2 separate regions of the Homo sapiens genome follow, and region 2 is linked to region 1. The links are contacts of gene promoters, found by promoter capture Hi-C in blood cells and fetal thymus (Javierre and others, 2016). All regions are on one chromosome and are shown on one strand. Each heading gives the region's core, a stretch centred on a gene start or on the middle of the fragment in contact. The rest is flanking DNA. Distances are from core to core; before and after follow the strand shown.

What was found. The method cuts DNA at HindIII sites, captures the fragments that hold promoters and counts their contacts. A CHiCAGO score of 5 or more calls a contact.
Region 2: a fragment that was not itself captured here is called in contact with the fragment with the promoter of C8A in region 1 in 4 of 17 cell types (endothelial precursors, total CD4 T cells, total CD8 T cells and 1 more); the score reaches 8.3 in endothelial precursors.

Annotation. Positions count from the first base shown.
Region 1 is chr1:56,852,179-56,857,409 of GRCh38, reverse strand. C8A (complement C8 alpha chain) reads right to left here and starts at 2,613. Exons shown (of 11, transcript NM_000562.3): 1 at 2,432-2,613. The coding sequence starts at 2,508. The HindIII fragment of the contact is 2,741 bases long and covers 1,789-4,529 here.
Region 2 is chr1:58,043,062-58,048,292 of GRCh38, reverse strand. It overlaps a transcript of DAB1 not described here and the pseudogene HNRNPA1P6. Among named protein-coding and RNA genes, the nearest start is that of DAB1-AS1, 190 kb to the right of the region's middle. The HindIII fragment of the contact is 219 bases long and covers 2,437-2,655 here.

The sequences.
Region 1 (5,231 bases), core at 1,364-3,863:
AAGGACCATTGCCAGGGATAATGGAAGCCTTTCATGATAATAAAAGGGTAAATTATCAAGCAGTCAGAATAACTCTAGATGTGTGTGTGTGTGTGTGTGTGTGTGTATTTAATAACAGAGCTTTAAAATACATGGAGCAAAAACTGATAGAACTGTAAGTAGGCAAATCCACAAATACAGTTGGAGATTGCAACATTCTTTTCTCAGTAATCAATAGAACAAGATGAAAACTTGAGTGACATTAACAACCAACTTGACTTAATTGACTTGGAACTACACTGAACAACAGAATAATGCACTTTTTTGAGCATATGGAATATTCACTAAGGTTGATCACACTCTTAGTAAAAAACAAATCCCAATACATTAAAAGAACTGCAATTAAAACTTCTAAGCAAATTAGAAACTTGAAATTAAAAACTTCTAAGCAACACACATAATGAAAGGTGTTATTTGTATAAAATATGTAATAGAGACCCACAGATTTTGAGGCTGAAGATTATAACTTCCTTCCATCACCATTGTTTTAAAATGTTTTTCTCAAATAACACATTTTTAAGATTTTATAATAAGCAACTGTTAAACATGAACTTATAAAATAAATTTGTATAAAATATGTAATAGAGATCCACTGATTTTTAGGCTGAAGATTATAACTTCCTTCCATCACCATTGTTTTAAAATGTTTTTCTCAACAAATTTTTAAGATTTTATAATAAGCAAATGTTAAACATGAACTTATAAAATAAATGTGTACCATTAAAATGTAAAACTATATAATATGTTTTCAATGTTAGGGTTCATGTGAAATTTTATTTTGCAGGGAAAAAGAGTGCTATTACTTAAAAATAAAGTTTAAAATCTCTGACTGATCAGAAAGATCCATGCCAATTGGCATATTATAAATTTGTTTTGTCTGATTATTGTCAACCATCAAGGGAATGGAAATACCAAAAAATAACAATAACAATCACACAGCAGCACTGGTGACAGCTTTCACTGAATGATTACTAGGTAATAGGTAACAGGTATTGATCTAAGTACTTTCATGCATTTAATTTTTGTTCTTACTTTCCTCCCATTGTACAGGTAAGGAAAATGAAGCTTGGAAAAATTAAATAACTTGCCTGAGATCAGACAGCTAGTGAATGTCAGTGCCAGAATTTGAACCTAATAAAATCATTTCACCATGTAGTTTTTCACTTTCAAAGTCAGTGTCAGACACACTGGCATTAGATACAAAGACCTCATGATTTCCTCCTTCAGCACTTTGTAAAGTATTTAATTGGTTCCATTTTGCCTTGACTTGAAATTTGCCCCTTCACTGGTCTGTCTTGTTTGATAAGTTCATCAAACATCAAGACTCTTTGTTCATTTTCAAAAAGGATTACAATGATAAGCTTTTATAATTAAGAATATCTCGGCGGAGATTTCCTTTACACAGTTCTCTTGCCTTTATCTTCTAATTATTACAGATGAATTTTCTGATTTCAAAATTGTATTTCCTTTAAATACAAGTTACAAATTAACTGCTTTTAAAAATGCTTTCCTCCCTTCTGAACTGTTACTTAAAGGAATTCTCACTTGCTCTAGCATTTAAAAGCACTAATGATTCAAAATTGCATCATCTATCAAGAATTAGAATTAAATAATTCTATTTAAAATCTTTAATGTTTGGGAGACAGGGATTGCTTTAAAGCTATCCCGAAGGTGAAATAAAGGACTGCTTAGGCTCCACAAAATACTTAATATTAAGATACCAAAAAAAAAAAACCCATGAAGCAAGCTTGGAAATCTCAAGAAAATAGAATGGGTAAAACACAATGTACATATGAAACTACATCACCTCCCTCTATTATCCCATAGCAAAAGATAAAGTCATTTTTAGAATCAAATGACCCAGCATCTCTATAGTCCTTTGCCTTCCCCACAGTGATTTTGAACACATTATCTAATTTTATCCTCCCCCAAAACTATGAGACAGCACTCTTATGATGCTCTTTTACAGATAAGAAAGTAGGGGTTAAGTTAACTGTTCAGCACCACTCAGGAGAACTGTCATTTATTAAGTGTCTACTATAAGCTGAGTACATTTTATATTCAGGATCTTATTTTATCTACATTAACTCTTATAGAAGAGGTATTATTATTCTCATTTTACAGCTAGGGAAACTAAGGATCAAACCGATGAGATGATTTACCCTGAATTATTCAGCTTCTAAGCATTAGAGCTGTGATTTACACATAGACCAATTTGACTCCAAGTGCACGGTCTTTTCACTGTCCCATCCTCCTCCACAGGAGTAGTAATAACATGAAAAGAGGTTATTTTCCATTCTAACACAGCCTCTGCTGCAAACATAAAAGTGTCTTAGTTCCCCAGCAGGTGATTCCTACGTGCAAGTTTTGCAGAGACATATGGCCCACTTACTGGTTCACCTTCTCCTGTGCAGTTACCCCAGGCTGACAAGTCATCAAAGACAAGATGAAGAAAACAACAGCAAACATCTCAGCCAGAAGCCACCGCACTATATTACCTTGAAGGAATAAAGCTATCTATTCAGGAAATTGGAGTAAAAGATGTCTACAGGCTGGGACCTGTAAGATCTATCTGATGTTGGAAACTCACCCAGATACACATTGATTTGCACAGAACTCACTTGATTCTCTTTCAAATATGGTTAAATAGTAACCAGGGTATTGATTACCTAAATACTCTAAAAGTGTTCCAGGCACCAAAGGCCACTGCCCTTTAGACCTTTTGAAAAACAATATCCGTGTGGTTAAGGAAAGGAAGATATTTAACTAATACCAGCTTAGCAAAGAGGTCTTATTTTCAAAAGGAGGCAAAAACCAAACCAAGATGCAGTTCTAGAATTCCTGGTCTTTTTCAGTGTCTCTTGGAACTTCTGAGGTCAGATCAATCTATTTTGCAAGACTGAAACAAGGCTAATATTGGTATATCAACTCAGACATAAAGCACTCAGAAAAATGTAGGAAATGCTAACCATTACATGAAGGTTCTACTGTACGTTGCCAAACATCTAAATCCTGAAATATATGTGTAATTCAATGGACTTTCCACTTTTCATACAGACATTGGGCATCATTGAGATCCAGGGTATCTGTTTATTGAGGGGGCCAAATGTCTTAAATAGACATCTCCAGAAGCACTCTCTAGAATTATAATGTCAATAAAACCACACATCAGGACTAATGGTGCCATACCTGCCTAAAATCTCTTACTCTTCAAGACATAAATTAAATTAAATTGAGATGGATGGATAGATAGGTAGGTAAATACATAGATGATGGATAGATACACAGACAATAATTTAATGGCTACTATGTGGCAGGCATTTCATATGTCTTATTTAATTTTCATAGCAGGGATATGAGATGGAAATTATTAATTCCATTTAGATGGAATTAATGAAGATGAAGAAATGGAGGCCCAGAGAAAGTAACTAACTTGCCCAAGGTTGTATAGCTGTCTCAATATCCTTGGGAATATTTAGATTCTCTCATTAGCAGGACTGTCCAGTAGTATCATTACTGATCTCAAAGTTAGGAGAAATTTTAATGAATGACTTGTATGCTTAAGAAAATGTGTTTCTGATTTAAATGCGGAGATTTTTTTAAAGGCACCAAATTGTTATCATCTCCCTTTTCTCAGAGATTTTGGTAAACTTGACAGAAGTAAATGTGGATTCTGGGTCCTGGGAAGTCCCCGGAGCCTGTGATTTCTGTGTCTCTCTTTCTCCTACCTCTTTTCATTTTGACTCCTTGGTCCTCTTGGCCTCAGTTCTACCCTACTTTGAAAACCACACTTTCTGTTTGCTCCACAATATTCCAGCGTGACTAGCATTTCATTTTGCTTTCACTGAAGATATGGAGGACAATGGAGGGTATTCTATCTGGACACCCTGGGGCCAGTTCAGGATGGCACATCTGGAGGCCACCTCTTTCTACCAACTTCCATCCTTTCTCATCCGTAGTCAAAGTTCCTGAAACAGATCCACAGAGCCCCCTGGGAAGTGTAGCTCAAGTTCCCCCACTCCTCCCACAGCTTTTCTCATGAGGAGACAACCTCCGCTACAACAGTGTCCTCCACTGGGGGTGATTTTGCCCTCAGGGGATATTTGGCAATGTTCAGAGATATTTATGTTATCACAACTTGGGGAGTTGTGCTACTGGCACCTAGTGCGTAAAGGCCAGGGATGCTGCCACACATCCTACAGTGCCCAGGACAAAAAATTGTCTGGCCCAAAATATCAAGAGTACCTAGGCTGGGAAACACTGCCCCACAGAAAAACTGGTCTGCCTTCCCCTGATCCCTGAAATAAAAGCAATCGGGTCTTCCTTCTTAAAGCAGCTCCTTCTCTAAATGTCTCTGATGTCTTTTCTCCTTACCCAAGCCCTCAATGGCTTTAGGACTCTTCCTTAACCTTTATCACCTCTCCCACCCCACCCCCAGCACGGTCCCTTATACCCCACCATATTCCTCTGTAATATTTTCCTGCCAAGCTTCTCTCCTTCATCCTCACTGTCTTTGATCCATATCAGGGCCTCATCTCTCTGTAACTCTCATTACCCACTCCTAGTGGGCCTCCACTTCTCACTTCAACCCTCCCTCTCTAGCACTGCTGGATTCATCATCAAGGAAACAATCTCTGACAACATCACTGTCCTACTCAGAAAGCTGCAGTGGCTCCCCCATTATCTCTAAGAGTAAAAGTCCAAATTCCTCCATAAATGAGTCCCAGCCCATTTTTGCAGCCTTATCAACCACAACTCTGCAATGATCCCCCACAGCATAGTCTAGGTTCCCTTCACCTTCCTCATGCTTTGCTGCTGCTGTGGCTTTGCTCACACTGGGCCTTCCATCTGAACTATCTTCATCCGTCATCTCCTCCCTTTTTGCCAAGCATCTTCTCAAATGTCAGATCCATCATGGATCTTTTGCTGGTGGCTCCATCTAAAAGGTGTCTGCTTGGAAGCTCAACCTCATAAATGTGCTAGCAGCACTTATAATTTTTGTTTCATATTCTTCTAGGGGAGCAGGGCGTAACTGGAGAATGAACATGTCTTTAGTGTAAGTTCTGTGTCTGATTCTTATTTATAATCATCCATATCACTTAACAATAAAATCTTTAATAGGAAATTGTTGTTGATTGAGTGAATAAGCAAATAAGCAATTAAAAATAGATTACTATTTCAGAATATGATTA
Region 2 (5,231 bases), core at 1,297-3,796, 1.2 Mb before region 1:
AGGCAGAAGCTCTGGCCCCTATGGCGGTGGAGGCCAATACTTTGCCAAACTGTGAAACCAAGGTGGCTATGGCGGTTCCAGTAGCAGCAGTAGCTGTGGCAGTGGCAGAAGATTTTAATTAGGAAACAAAGCTTAGCAGGAGAGAAGAGCCAGAGAAGTGACAGGGAAGCTATAGGTTACAACAGATTTGTGAACTCAGCCAAACACAGTGGTGGCAGGGCCTAGCTGCTGCAAAGAAGACATGTTTTAGACAAATACTCATGTATATGGGCAAAAAACTTGAGGACTATATTTGTGACTAATTGTATAACAGGTTATTTTAGTTGCTGTTCTGTGGAAAGTGTAAAGCATTCCAACAAAGGGTTTTAATGTAGATTTTTTTTTGCACCCATGCTGTTGATTGCTAAATGTAATAGTCTGATCGTGATGCTGAATAAATGCCTTAAAAAAAGTAGTTCAGGTTATTTATGTTTCCTTTTTCTTGGATGCCGGATAAACAGTTGTTGACTGGACTTTCAACTCAGGCAGAGAGATGATCTAGTTAAGTTCCTGGCCTGAGAGAGTGTCAATAGAAGAGCCCATATTTCTCACATGTATGGAATTGCGTGAAGATCTTTCATTTATTCTACTCTGCTGTAATTCAATGTGATTACTTTGACTAGTGAATGAGAGGTGGCTCTTTAACCATAAACAAGCGAATGGGTTAAAAAAAATCAAAATTAGTATCTATGCTTTCAATGAGAGGAGTGAAGGGGCTATGATAAAGATTAGTAGGACACAGGGGCTGGTGGCTTCATTGCACCCACACCCCTCATTTGTGAGATGCCACTCACCTGTACATCCACCAGAGGGCAGCAGCAGCAGCGAAGGCCCACCTCCCTGGTGCCACACTTCACACCACACTGTCCAACCACACGTGGCTATTGGGCACCTGAAATGTGGCTAGTGCCACTTGTTGAAATGATAACAGTTTGGATATGTTGAAAGATAACAGTTTAGATATATTGGATTAAAGAAAATATATTATTAAAATTCATTTCACCTGTTTTTTTATTTTACTTAAATGTGGCTAAGTGGCAAATTTAAGGTGACATATGTGGCTTGCATTCATAGCCCATGCTATATTTCTTTTGGGTGAAACTGCTTGACACAATCCATGGCATAATAAAACAGAATTTCCAAAATAACTAAAGTTTGAATCTCATTTTCAGGCTATGTATATATTATACAAATATCATGTCATGGTAAGAATTTGGAGGGATCTTGGAGCTTGTCCTTATTTTACAGCTAAAGAAACTGAGGCTCAAAGAGATGAAGCAACTTTGCCCAAGGTCACACAACCAGTAAGTGGCACGGCTGGGCTTTGAACTTCAGTTTCAAACAAAATCAGTTCTTCTCCACTCAGTGAGTGGCCCAGAAATTGTAGGTATCCCTGGACTTAAAGAGTGTACCTCTGAGAGCTCCCATCCCTCTATCCCCAGCACCAGTGGCTGGCACATGGCAGGAGCTCTGTTCTACAGCATCCAGTCTGTGTGAGATGCTTTGTTTACTGCACCACACAAAGGATACCAAGACAAGTGCTGCTCAGGCTCTGTTCTCTGGAAGCTCATGGCATAGTAGAGAAGATACCAGATGGACAGTAACCAATTAAAATTGTAAAACAAGTTCTAGCTAAGTACCTTGAAACTAATGTGGAAATGTGTTCAACCTCATTAGTAATTTAAAAAATGCAAATAAAAATAATGATATGACATTGTACTTTACTCACATCCTTCCTAGTTTCAGAGGGCCTTAAAGTAGTTCATAATCCTACCTTCGAAAAAAAAATCAACAGAAAATAAAATCAACAACAAAAAAAGAAGTTCTTCTTTATGTAAATGTGTTCTATGGGAGGGACAAGATGTCACCCAAGTAAATGATTTGGACGATATAAACATTTCAATTGCCGTGATGTCCTTTGCCTCAGTTTGCTTAGCTTTGAGAAAAGAAGTTAGTTATAGCCAATTGGATATTTGATATACACTAGGAAAAATATTTATCTTTATTTAGTTTAAGAAAATCCAGAATTCCCAGGCTTTTCTTCAGTATCAAAATGGAAAACTTACTTAACAGAAGAAACCAAAACTTATTCTGTCTCTGGTATCTACCACAGGACTTTACATATATCATGGACTTAACTCAATAAAGCCTTGCTGAATACAGGAAGGTACCTGCATTTATTCTATGCCAGTTATGTGCCCATATACCTTAACAGGCCTCTTTCTATAAATAAGGTCATTTAATAACCTTAAAACCCTGAAAATTTTAGTCTCCATTTTCAGATAAATAACAGAGGCTCCAAAAAAAAAAAAAAAAAATTGATAATCTTGCCCAAATCCCTAATTACCAGGGAGCAGAGCTGCAATTTGGACCCATAATGTATTTTGTTCCAAAGCTTGCATCTCTATGCTGTGTGAAAGGATAGGAGAATAAATGGAAAAAAAGAGAAGGAACAAAGGGGAAAAAGGGAAAAGAGGCAAAAAGGGAGAGAAAGGAGGCAAGAGAAGGATGGAGATGAAAACAAAGATGCAAGGGAAGAAAGGGGTGAGTGAGTATGGATTTCTACCTCTTTCAGCACATAGTCTAAAAAGAAAGATAAAGAGAAGGGTCAAAGCTTCCCTGGAAAAAAAATATTCCTAGCAATTTGGAGAGACAGTTTTTAAAATGGCAGGTTAGGAATTCATCTACTGTCGAAGGCTTGGCTCTCAGAAGTTCCCCCAGGATGGTTTCTTCTCTTGCCACCTCATTATCGCCGGGAACAATCTGCATGGCCAGTAATGAGAGGATCTTAATGCCGGCAGTCTCAAGAGTGGGTAACAGCCCCGCTCGCGGAGTTGGGGTCACAGGTTCAGGCCTGGATGCTGTGGAGAGAGCTGCGTGAAGCTGCAGACCGTCCCCCTGGACCAGCAGTCCATTAGCCCTTACCCCCTCGGTATGGCAGTAATGAGTAGGTGAGGCCCACTCCACAGCCCCTGCCAGCAGACCCGTCGGAGTGGGGTTGTGGCCTCCCAGTGGCAAGTGCTTCCCGCTGCCAGCCCTGACCAACCTGCTGTCCTTGCAGTGCTGTCGGCCGGCCTGCAGGATAGGGTTTGTCAGGATTCAGGATCCTCTCAAATTCTGCTCCTAACAACAATGCAATTAATTAGGGAGCCAGATAATTTAAGCTTTATATTCATAAACTATAATATTTATATAGATTCCAATTGTATGTTTTCATCTGTAAGCCCATTCTGTATAGTAGAAAAAAACAGATTTTCTAGTCAGAGTTCTAAGCCTAGCATCCCTCTATTAGCTATGTGACCTTGGGCATACTACTTCATTTCTATGAATCGTGGTTTTCTCACATGTCATGAGGAATATTAATAATACCAGCCTTATAGGTTTGTTCAGATTATTATTATATATTTGTTATTAATAACTAACATTGAGTCCTATGTATTGGGTTCTGTGATAAGTGCTTTTATACATATGATTCTGAATCCTCTGAACTCTGCATGTAAATATTACTCTTATCCCTAATCGACAGATATTGAAACAGGGTAAGACTGAGTTAGTACGTGTCAGAACTGGGATCTGAAGTCTGGTCTCTCTGACAACCTTTGTAACCTTAACCACTATGCTATAGTGAAATTATGAATTCAACACCCAGAGTAAAAGCCTGATATGCAGTACATTGTCAATAATTATATTAGTTCTTTCTCCTCTCCTTTTCTCTTTGTCTAATATAACAAGAGACACTCAGAAAACATAAATCTGTCTAGGTATTTCAAACAGGAAAGATTCAATAAAGGAGTTGGTCGCATACAAGATGGAAGAGCTAAGAAGCGAAAAAATGATATTCAGACAAGTCAAAGAGCAGCAGTAGGAGGAAGCCACTGTAACCCCTAGGCTAGAGGAATAGGGAAAAAAGGTGGTACCACCAAATCCCAGAGACCAGGGTCACCTTCAGAAGCTAGAAGCACAGAGAAGCCCTGGAGGAAATGCTACCATTTCTGGAGATGCAATCCCAAACCAGGAAAGCCAAGGGTAAAAATGCCCTGTCCCTCTTCCCTCCTTCTGGTCTCCAACTTACCACAGCCTCAAATTAGTAATACATAATCAGAAACTCAAAAAGAAGGAAGCTAAGGAAATGTTGTTTCCTGAAAATTTTTCAAAGAAGGACAGAGGGAGCTGAGATTAAATATACAGGTAATTGACACATCTACAATGCTATAAAGTAGTTAAGTTGTGGTGAGCACAGTGGCTCACATCTGTAATCCCAGCACTTTGAGAGGCCAAGGCAGGCGGATCACGAGGTCAAGAGTTCAAGACCAGCCTGGCCAACATGGTGAAACCCCATCTCTACTAAGAATACAAAAATTGGCCAAACGTAGTGGTGTGTGCCTATAATCCCAGCTACTCGGGAGGCTGAGGCAGAAGAATCGCTTGAACCTGGGAGGTGGAGGTTGCAGTAAGCCGAGATCGTGCCACTGCACTTGAGCCTGGGTGACAGAGCAAGACTCCGTCTTAAAAAAAAAAATGTGGGTTGTGATTATCCTCTCTGTTTGACTCTGTCAAGTATTCATTTCATGGCACAATAGTGATCTCATTTTATAGATGAGAAAAGAAAATCCAGACATTAACTACTACTCCCAGAGCTCCAAAGAGGAAGTGAGTATTAATTTTGTGAGATTCACGGAAGGCTTTAGAGTAGGAGTGACTGTGAGGACATCATGGGTCATGGGTGAAGAGAGTTTTGTCAGATGGATCAGATTGAAAAAGCACTACAAGCAGTGGAAATAGAAGAGGTAAAGGTATCGATCCATGTATTGAAGGGTTTGGGCTAGACTGTCTCTGAAGTTTCTGCCAACTCTTTTTTTTAAACTTGAAATTCTACTAGAAGTGAAAGAAATATATTATCCAAATTGTTTTTTATAGTACCTAAAGGCATTCATTTTCTAATATGAAATTATATTACTTGACCCATTTATGTAGGCACTGTGATGTACCTTTCATGTTGATAAAGAAATTAGTACATAGATGGAGCAAATGCCACTAACAAGATCGGCTCAAAAGGGACAGAGAATTTTGGTCTCTTATCTGTCTTCTTACTACCTTGTGTTAACAGTTTGGAAAGAGCAGCACAGCGCCTATACATTAACATTTTGGTGATTCATTCCTTCTGGAATATACTGTCAGGACATTTGATCTGC